2 separate regions of the Homo sapiens genome follow, and region 2 is linked to region 1. Evidence: promoter capture Hi-C in human tissues and cell types (Jung and others, 2019). All regions are on one chromosome and are shown on one strand. Each heading gives the region's core, a stretch centred on a gene start or on the middle of the fragment in contact. The rest is flanking DNA. Distances are from core to core; before and after follow the strand shown. Region 1 holds the start of HERC6 (HECT and RLD domain containing E3 ubiquitin protein ligase family member 6). Region 2 overlaps PKD2 (polycystin 2, transient receptor potential cation channel).

Region 1 (4,909 bases), core at 883-3,382:
TATGTTCATAAGATTATGCTTGATGAAAACACAATGTACAGAGTTGCATAAATACTGCATATACAAATCTATAATGACATGATTTTTATAAAGATTAAATATGTACATAGAAAAAAGTAGACAAGGAGAAAATGCATCAAAATGTTAGGAGTTATCTTTGGGTGTTGGAGCTACGGTGATTGCTTTCTCGTATTTCTACAATAATCCATAACGATTATTGTATTATCTCACATATATAATATATATATTTATTATTATTATGTTTTTTGAGACAGAGTCTTGCTCTGTTGCCAGGCTGGAGTGCAGTGTCGCGATTTCGGCTCACTGCAACCTCTGCCTCCCGGGTTCAAGCGATTCCCCTGCCTCAGCCTCCCAAGTAGCTGGGACTACAGGCGCCCGCCACCACGCCCAGTTTATTTTTTGTATTTTAGTAGAGATGGGGTTTCATCATATTGGCCAGGGTGGTCTCGATTTCCTGACCTCGTGCTCCGCCCGCCTCGGCCTCCCAAAGTGCTGGGATCACAGGCGTAAGCCACCGCGTCCGGCCTATTATGTGTATATATATATATTTATATATTATATATATATATTTATATATTATATATATATATTTATATATTATATATATATTTATATTATATATATATTTATATATTATATATATATTTATATATTATATATATATTTATATATTATATATTTATATATTATATATATTTATATATTATATATTTATATATTATATATATTTATATATTATATATTTATATATTATATATATATTTATATTATATATATATTTATATATTATATATATATTTATATATTATATATATTTATATATTATATATATTTATATATTATATATATTTATATATTATATATATATTTATATATTATATATATTTATATATTATATATATTTATATATTATATATATATTTATATATTATATATATTTATATATTATATATATTTATATATTATATATATATTTATATATTATATATATTTATATATTATATATATTTATATATTATATATATATTTATATATTATATATATTTATATATTATATATATTTATATATTATATATATATTTATATATTATATATATTTATATGCTATATATATATTTATATATTATATATATTTATATGTTATATATATATTTATATATTATATATATTTATATGTTATATATATATTTATATATTATATATATTTATATGTTATATATTTATATATTTATATATTATATATATTTATATATTATATATTTATATATTATATATTTGTATATATTTATATATTATATATATTTATATATTTTATATATATATTTTTATATATATATATTTTTTAATGCCCCAGTGTATTTCTAAGGGAGATACAGGTGTCTGACCCACAAACCACGTTTGTAAGGTCAGGCTGCCTTCTCCAGGTAGAACCGCGCAGGCGAGGATTTATCTGCAAGGCAAGCCGGAGGGACCACATCTCTTTCCAGAGCAGCGCTGACCAGGTTAGTTTCGGCTCTCAGTTTCGCTTTGAACTTGAATTGGAAACCGAAACAAATCCGAGGGGCGTTGGGAAAACGAAACTGAGGAAGTTGCTCTTCGGTAGCACAGGGCACCATTTTCCTGGTTCCTGTGGCTCTTCGGGCCCCGAGGAATCCAAGGCTCCCAGCACCCCTCCCTGCCTGGCCCGCGGCGCCCAGCATCTGAGCCGCTCCCTGCACCTGGGCCCCCGCGCCCCTCACCCGGGTCCCAGCGCTCCGCACCCGGTTCCCTGCGCCCGGTACCCAAGCCCCCGCGCCCATGTACTGGGGTCCTCACACCCTGCACCTGGGGCCCCCCGCTCACCTGGCAGCTCCCCGCGCTGCGCGCCCCTGCGGCCCAGCTGACCCCTGCTGTTGTCTCCGCACGAGAGGACCCTGTGGTTGGTCAGCAGCAGCAGAGAGTGGCGCTCCCCGCTGGCCGCCTGCAGTAGCTCAGCCCCGGGGCTGCCCGCCGTCCTCCGGCGCTGCAGCTCCCTGGAGTCGGCGCCCCAACAGAAGTACATCCCGCTTCTGCGCCCTGTCGCCTGCTCCGGATTCCGTCGGTCCCGCTGCGACAGGCTCCCGAACGCTGGTGACTGGGTGCGCGATGATTTCCTGAATATCAAGAGACTCACCCTGTCTTCAACCCGCCCCAGGGGCGCAGCCCTGGCCCCATGTCAACTCTCGCTGCCTGAACTTCAAGTGCTGAAGAGCAGAGAGGGCGTCCCAGGGAATAAAACTGAGTTTACATCCTAAGCCATTTATGAGTCGTGAATGCCACTTTGGGCAAGTTACCTAATGATTCCGTGCTTCAGCTATCATATCTACGAAATATGGACTGCAATTCAGCAAATCTAATATGTCGGGATAATTTAATAGGCACATAAAGTGTTAGAATAATACCTAGAGTGGTTAATAAAGCATCTGAGTGCCCACCTCATTCCAGACCTTTTTTGGCATTGAAAATATGTTTGTTTTTTGTTTGTTTGTTTGTTTGTTTGTTTGAGATGGAGTGTCGCTCTGCTGCTCAGGCTGGAGTGCAGTGGCACCATCTCGGCTCACTGCAACCTCCACCTCACGGGTTCAAGCTGATTCTCTTGCCTCGGCCTCCCGAGTAGGTGGGATTACAGGCATGCGCCACGACGCCCGACTTAATTTTTGTATTTTTAGTAAAGATGGGGTTTCACCATGTTGGCCAGGCTGGTCTCGAACTCCTGACCTCAAGTGATCCACCCCTCAGCTTTCCAAAGTGCAGGGATTACAGGCGTGAGCCTCTGGGCCCCGCCTGAAAATACAATTAGTGAAAGACAAGATCCTCTTGATGCGTTTACATTCTCCTGAGGGAAAGAGAACATAAACAGATAAACACATAGTGTAATATCAAGGGGCAACGAAAAATACAACAGGAACCAGAGGGTGGAGGCGGAAGGCACTGGTATTTGAGATGATATTAGGGAAGATCTCTCTGATGAAGTGATATTTGTGCAGAGAGCTGAGGGGACATGGGAAATGAGGGAATGAGTCGTGATCACACCTGAGGGCAGAGGATGAAAAGAAGCAGTTGGAAGGTTTTGAATAGAGAAGAGCCATGATCTGACTTCAGTTTTTAAAGATTCATCTGGCTGCTGTGTGAAAAATAATAGGACAAAAATGGAAGCAGAAAGCCAGTTAGCAGAGACTACTTCAGAGTTCAGGTCAGGTGATATCCTAGAAGGGAAGAGAGGAGAAGTTATTAGATTCAAGACATGTTTTGAAAGTAAGAGTCCACAGATTTGATGATGGATTAGAAATTGGGGGGAAAGAAGAAAAGGGATTAGGGATTACTCCAGGGTTGGCTTTAGGGGTTACTCCAAGGTAAACTCTACTGGACTGGGAAACCCTGAGGAAGGTGCAGGTTTAAGCTATGTGTGTCTGGAATACAGATTGGTAATGATAACTGTAAGATGCTTGTTAATCAAGAAGGCAATAGGATAAACTGTTTTGGAGTTGTAGAGAGAAGCTTGGGTGTAGTCAGAAAATTGGGAGCCATCAGTGTAGAGGTGATGCTTAAAGCCAGATGGCTGAATGAGAACACCCAGGGGGTGAATGTGGTGACAGTATAGCAGAGGCTAGAGGACTGATCATAGGAGGAAAACCAGGAGGAGGAGTTATAGACAGAGCAAGTAACGAATAAAGGAAGGATCAACTCTGTCAATTTCTTGTGGAGCAAGGTAAGGATTGAGCACTGATTTTTATTTATTTATTTGTTTGTTTGTTTGAGATAGAGTTTCCGCTCTTGATGCCCAGGCTGGAGTGCAATGGCGTGATCTCAACTCACAGCAACCTCCGCCTCCCAGGTTCAAGCAATCCTCCCGCCTTAGCCTCCCAAGTAGCGGGACTACAGGCACGTGCCACTACGCCCAGCTAACTTTTGTATTTTTTGAAGAGATGGGGTTTCATCATGTTGCCCAGGCTGGTCTTGAACTCCTGACCTCAGATGATCTGCCTACCTCAGCCTTCCAAAGTGCTGTGATTATAGGCCACCATGTCCCGCTGAGCACTGGTTTTTAGATTTGGTAACTTTGATAATGTTAGCCATCATCAGCATTATTGATTTTTTTTTAAAAGAAACTATTACAGAACCTATTTATGTAATTTCAATTCACCACTCTTCATGACCATGTTTCAAGTTCTTTAAAGAGAAGAACAAATGTTCTTTATTTTTCTACCTCAAGAGTACCTGGAACTTGGTAGATGCTAATAAGGGTATGTCGGACAATTGGATTGATGAGTAGTGAGTCAGTGGATAGTATTAGTATTTCTGGTTCTGTTTTGCTGTATACCAAATATAACCTTTTTCTGAATAGTAATTTCTTAATGTTTATTTCTTTTCTCAAGCACAAAATGTAGGAGTTTGGTATTATTACCATAAGATACTGAGCCCTCAAATTAAGTTATTTCTTTAAAAAAAAATTTTTTTTTGAGACAGAGTCTCGCTTTGCCACCCAGGCTGGAGTGTAGTGGCACGATCTCAGCTCACTGCAACCTCCACCTCCCCGATTCAAGCGATTCTCCTGCCTCAGCCTCCTGAACAGCTCAGATTACAGGCGGGCACTATCACACCTGGCTAATTTTTGTATTTTTCGTAGAGATAGGGTTTCACCATGTTGGCCAGGCTGATCTCGAACTTCTAACCTCAAGTGATCCGCCTGCCTCAGCCTCCCAAAGTGCTGGGATTACAGGCGTGAGCCACCACTCTTGGCCTAAAAAATCTTTTATTGATACATAATAGATGCACATGTTTTGGGGGTACATATGATAATTTGACACATTATCAAATTGGGATATCTATCGCCTTAAATAATTTATCTTGGGCTAGGCACAGTGGCTCA
Region 2 (4,909 bases), core at 1,349-3,848, 340 kb after region 1:
CTCCCTTAGCAAAGTCTGCAATAACCAAGAGGTAATGAGGCCTGAAGTCACTCAGTGAAGATGGGAAGGGAAAGGAAGGAGTGAGAGAGTGTCGTAACCACAGTGACTGCCAGCAGAACTTGGTAACTGATTTGGAAGTTGGGGCAAGGAGGAAACATGGCTCAAAAATGACTCTGGAGTCTCTTTCAGGGCAATAGGAAGACGGCAGTGCCATTAACAGAACAAAGAGCAGATCTCATAAGAAAACGATGAGTTTAGTTTGGGGCATATTAAATCACAAGAGGTGTGGGACATCCAGGTGGAATAGAGATGTGTCTTGTATCACTAGAATGCAAGCTCTGTGAAGAAAGGACGTTTCTTCTGTTTCCTGCTGCTTTGTTTCTCCAGCATCAAGGGCACTACTAGAAGAGGGGGGACTTCTAGCAATGGGAACATGCCTGGCACATTGTTGAAGAAATGATGAGTCACCAAATAAAGATGTCAGTGGAAGCCATCTGAATGTCATGGGAAAGAGAGAAAAGAAAGAAAAGACGGAGATATGAATATAGAACCTGGGAATAAGAGAAGTGAGAGAAAGGGGTTTCAGAGTTAAAAGAACCCAAAGTGTAGAGTTCTTCATGGAAGTCAAAAGAATGAGCGGTCAACACTGCCACTTTCTGCAGACAGTATGAAGGGGATAAAAACTGAGATTTGTTCAGTGGATTTGCTAACTAGAGGTCCCTAGTAGCTTCCTGGTGAGATGTCAAAAGCAAGAACCTAAGCTTTAAGACGTGAATTGATGGTAAGGAAATGGAAGTGGCAAATGAAGACTATTCTTCCAAGAAGTTTGGAGTTGAAGGGAAGAAGAAATGGGAGTGACTTGAGAATGTAGAAGAATAAAAGGATAGTTTAGATATGACAGGGAAGGTCCCCTTTGGCAATCCACCCTGGAGTAGAAATCACTCGAATGCATCCAGCACATATTTATTAGTATCTTTACATATGAGGCATTGTTCAAGGCTTTGAGAATACAGCAGTTAACAAAATAGAATCCCTGCCCTCAGGAAGCTTGAGTACTGATGGGGAGCTGAGAGCGTCGACAAGCCACCCTAACGACGCAATTAATATGGAGGAGGAATTAATATGGAAGAGGTTTAGTAGGCGAAACATGGGTTTTGGAGTCAGGCTGCTTAAATCTTGGTTCAGTCCAATTTGTTAGCTGTGACACTTTGGGCAAGTGAGCCTCAGTTTTTTCATCTATAAAATGGAGGTGATACCTATTTTAGAGTTGTTTTGTGAAGGCAGATGAGATAATGCGTGAAATAACTTCTTAAATAATGTCTGGCACAGAGCAGTGGCTGTATAAATTTATCTTATTAGTGATGTGAGATAAATAAAATATTGGAAAGGGTACCACAGATGAAGGCATGCTTATGCTTTGCAGGAACTACAAAAAGGCACATTAGAAAGCAAAATAAAGCTGGGCATGGTGGCATATTCTCATAGTCCCAGCTACTTGGGAGGCTGAGGCTGGAGGACTGCTTGAGCCCAGGAGTTTGAGGCCAGCCTGGGCAACATCAAGAAACTCTATCTGTAATAATTTTTTTTTTAAAGAAAGCGAAATCACTATCATAACTTGGATGATAATGTCCTTTGAGACTATTTAGTTCCTTTGTTCTAAAGCTCTGGATTTTCACTAAATTTGTTTTTTTTTTTTTTTGAGGGGGAGTCTTGCTCTGTTGCCCAGGCTGGAGTGCAATGATGAGACCTCAGCTCACTGCAACCCCCACCACTCGGGCTCAAGCAATTCTCCTGCCTCAGCCTCCCGAATAGCTGTGACTATAGGCACATGTCACCACACCCAGCTAATTTTTGTATTTTTAGTAGAGTCAGGGTTTCACCATGTTGGCTAGGCTGGTCTTGAACTCCTGACCTCAAGTGATCTGTCCGCCTTGGCTTTCCAAAGTGCTGGGATTACAGGCATGAGAAACTGTGCCCAACCTGGATTTTTACTAAATTTGTTTCTTATGGGTTCTGGTATTAAATAGAGTGTATACTGGAAGGTACAAGAAGAATATACTAATTGAAAAGGTGATTGCCCATTGTATAGTAACAAATGTGGATTCTGGGCAACTCAGTTTCCAAGAAAAGAACCTAGATGAACCGACAGAATTAGCTGAGCAAAGCTTAGAAGATGACTCCGACCAGTGACGTACCCAGGGACAGCAACCGCAAAGGCCCACCCTGAAACGGCCTTGGAGGTCTTCTTGTTTCTTTATAATAACTACAATACTTCTAAAATAGTAAGTGACCTCCCTTAATACACAAGATGTTTGAAGTAGGAGTACCAAAGTGTACAAAAAGCCCCTGTAAATATGCACGTGTACAAATATATACCTAAAATCTCAAACATTTGAACAAAATGGGCTTTAAACCTAACAAAAAATTGCCTCACAAGCTTACACATTAAATAACTCCATTCTGAACAAAAACCTGTTTGCAAGACCTATAAAAAGAGTTCCTGAACCAGAAAACTTGTGTTAAATAACTTAGTGGATGATGTTACTGCACCTGTAAAAACAGGGCCCAGGGCATCTTAAATGAAATTTTCAAACGCTCAGATAATTAATTTTTGAGGGGTTATATGGTCAACGATTTAGTCTTCTGAAAAATATGCATGTAGAAACTAAAAGAAGGCTAAGAAGTAGTGAAAACTTAAGAAGTCAAAGGTCAAGTTGGCCAAGGTTTAAATATAAGCACTGAAGAGTCACTGAACTTATTTTTGCCTTGGTGAAGGTGTCAGGGAATGAATGAATGAATGGTGGGAGTTCAGAGAATAAATGAATGAATATCACCGAGTGGCAATGAGTCACAGACACTTACGCGGTTCCATTTCGGGGCCCAAAGGGAGCCCTATCTTCACTACTGACAGAGTAGACATCATAGCACTCTTTAATTTCATCTCTCAAGTCCTGGGGGATAGAGCAGGATCCATTTCTGACTCGGAGTTGCCGTATTCGTGGAACCCCTAACAGCAGGTTCTCATAGAAGATGAAACTTCGGTTGTCAGCTTCAGTCTGGTTGCTGGGCTGCATCTTCCAGTACAGCCCATCCAATAAGGAGCCTTCTGTGAACTAAAAGCAAAGGAAACATCTCTGAAAAAGTTCCAAGCTCAGCCGCTGTCTTGCCCCTGCCTGCATCGTTTGCATAACCAAGCATTTGGCAACTCTATGAAAATAGTAGAGTGATAAGAATGAGTTTTGTTGTCAGAGAGATTTGGGATAGCATCTTGCCCCATCATTTGTTAGCTATGAGGCCTTGAGCAGGGTCCTCTGAACCAAGGTTCTTGCATCTGGAAAACCCATCTTTTGCATAGTTACTGCACCTGGCACAGAGTGGGTACTTAATACGTGGCAGCTCTGATTTTTGTTCTTGGACTAAAGGTGGGGTCATGATTAACTGCACTTTCCCTTATTAAAATAATGTCCCACACAATCATGGTTCTAAACTTTGTTTAGAGAAAAGGCTACAGTTTTGATTACCAGCCTGGCATTTGATAGACCTTTCACCTGTCTGGACTATTTTGCTGTATGGTGAACTCTCCAATCCCTCCTCGTCCCTTTAGTGATTGGCATTTATCATCATGGAATGTGTATACAAAAGTCTCTTGTTAGTTTGTACAACTAGCTATGCCTGTAGGGAAGACAGATCTATTTCTCAGTGTGCTATCCTTGTCAGATGATCAACAGAGATAGACTGATTTGCCCTACTCAGATGGTGAAAGATTCATATTATACAAGTGTGGTTTTGGATGCCAGGTACTTTTATATATGAATAGTTTCCTGTGACTCAGTTGTCTCTATCCTTAAAATCAACAGCTCTGACCCCAGGGTGTAGTAAGAATTTTAGAAACTATCTCCCCAAGGAGAAATAATAATTTCCTTTTCAATTTCCCTTCCAATTTTCTTAGATTCCAAGCCCCATATCCCTCAGATCAGTTTAATATTTTTCCTGTGGTATCACTCATTGGTATACTGTTAACTACGTTGGAATTTGTGACAACTTGGGAAGGGGCTGGATTGGGTTGAACTTCACAACAGCAGACCTTTTTTGTTTGTTTTTGGGTTTTTTTTTGGGGGGGATTTTTTTTGAGAAAGGGTCTCACTCTGTTGCCCCAGCTGGAATGCAGTAGCATGGCCATGGCTCACTGCAGCCTTGACCTCAAGCAATCGCTCAAGTGATTCTCCCACCTCAGCCTCCTGAGTAGCTGGGACTGCAGGTGTGTACCACCACACCCTGCTAATTCTTTAACTTTTTTGGAGAGACAAAGTCATACTATGTTGTGCCCAGCTGGTTTCAAAATCCTGGGCTAAAGCAATCCTCCTGCCTTGGCCTCCCAAAGTGCTGGGATTACAGGCGTGAGCCACCAAGCCCCACCAACAGCAGACCTTTGAAAGAATGTGCTTACTTTGAATCAAGCACTGTTCTAAGAGCTGGGGATACATGCCATCATCAACAAAGAGACAAAACACAAAAGGCGAAGCAAGACAGAAGAACCACACTGCCCTTCATTGGCCTTACATTCTAGGAGATTCTCAATAAATATTTATTGAATCTTGACTCATGGAATGAATTACAAACTAGGATGAAGTAGCTGTCAGGCTAGAAAAAAATCAATTTTTCTTGTTCCCTAGCCATGTGACCATACGCATTTAAACATCCTGAATCTCATTTTCCTCATTAACAAACTAGGGCATAGTCTTAGTACTTACCTTATAGAGTTAGACTATAGAAATTAAATAAGGTAAGATATGAAACACTCAGCACAGTGCAAGGCACAGGCAAAGTTCTCAATGTTAGTTTACCCCCTTTGAGAGTAGGAACAGTAACTTCTAACAACTCACCATAACTTACGTCTCACACAGTGTTA

Evidence for each region. Contacts are between HindIII fragments. The study calls those that stand out against the background at their distance.
Region 2: a contact is called between a fragment that was not itself captured here and the fragment with the promoter of HERC6 in region 1, in 1 of the 25 tissues and cell types used here (mesenchymal stem cells).

The regions. Positions count from the first base shown.
Region 1 is chr4:88,376,075-88,380,983 of GRCh38, reverse strand. It overlaps HERC6 (HECT and RLD domain containing E3 ubiquitin protein ligase family member 6), which reads right to left and starts at 2,132. Exons shown (of 23, transcript NM_017912.4): 1 at 1,864-2,132. The coding sequence starts at 2,062. RefSeq lists an enhancer at 1,380-1,709 and a silencer at 1,720-1,909. The HindIII fragment of the contact is 12,273 bases long and covers 1-4,861 here.
Region 2 is chr4:88,036,455-88,041,363 of GRCh38, reverse strand. It overlaps PKD2 (polycystin 2, transient receptor potential cation channel), which reads right to left. Exons shown (of 15, transcript NM_000297.4): 4 at 2,863-3,113. Among named protein-coding and RNA genes, the nearest start is that of PKD2, 31 kb to the right of the region's middle. The HindIII fragment of the contact is 3,387 bases long and covers 905-4,291 here.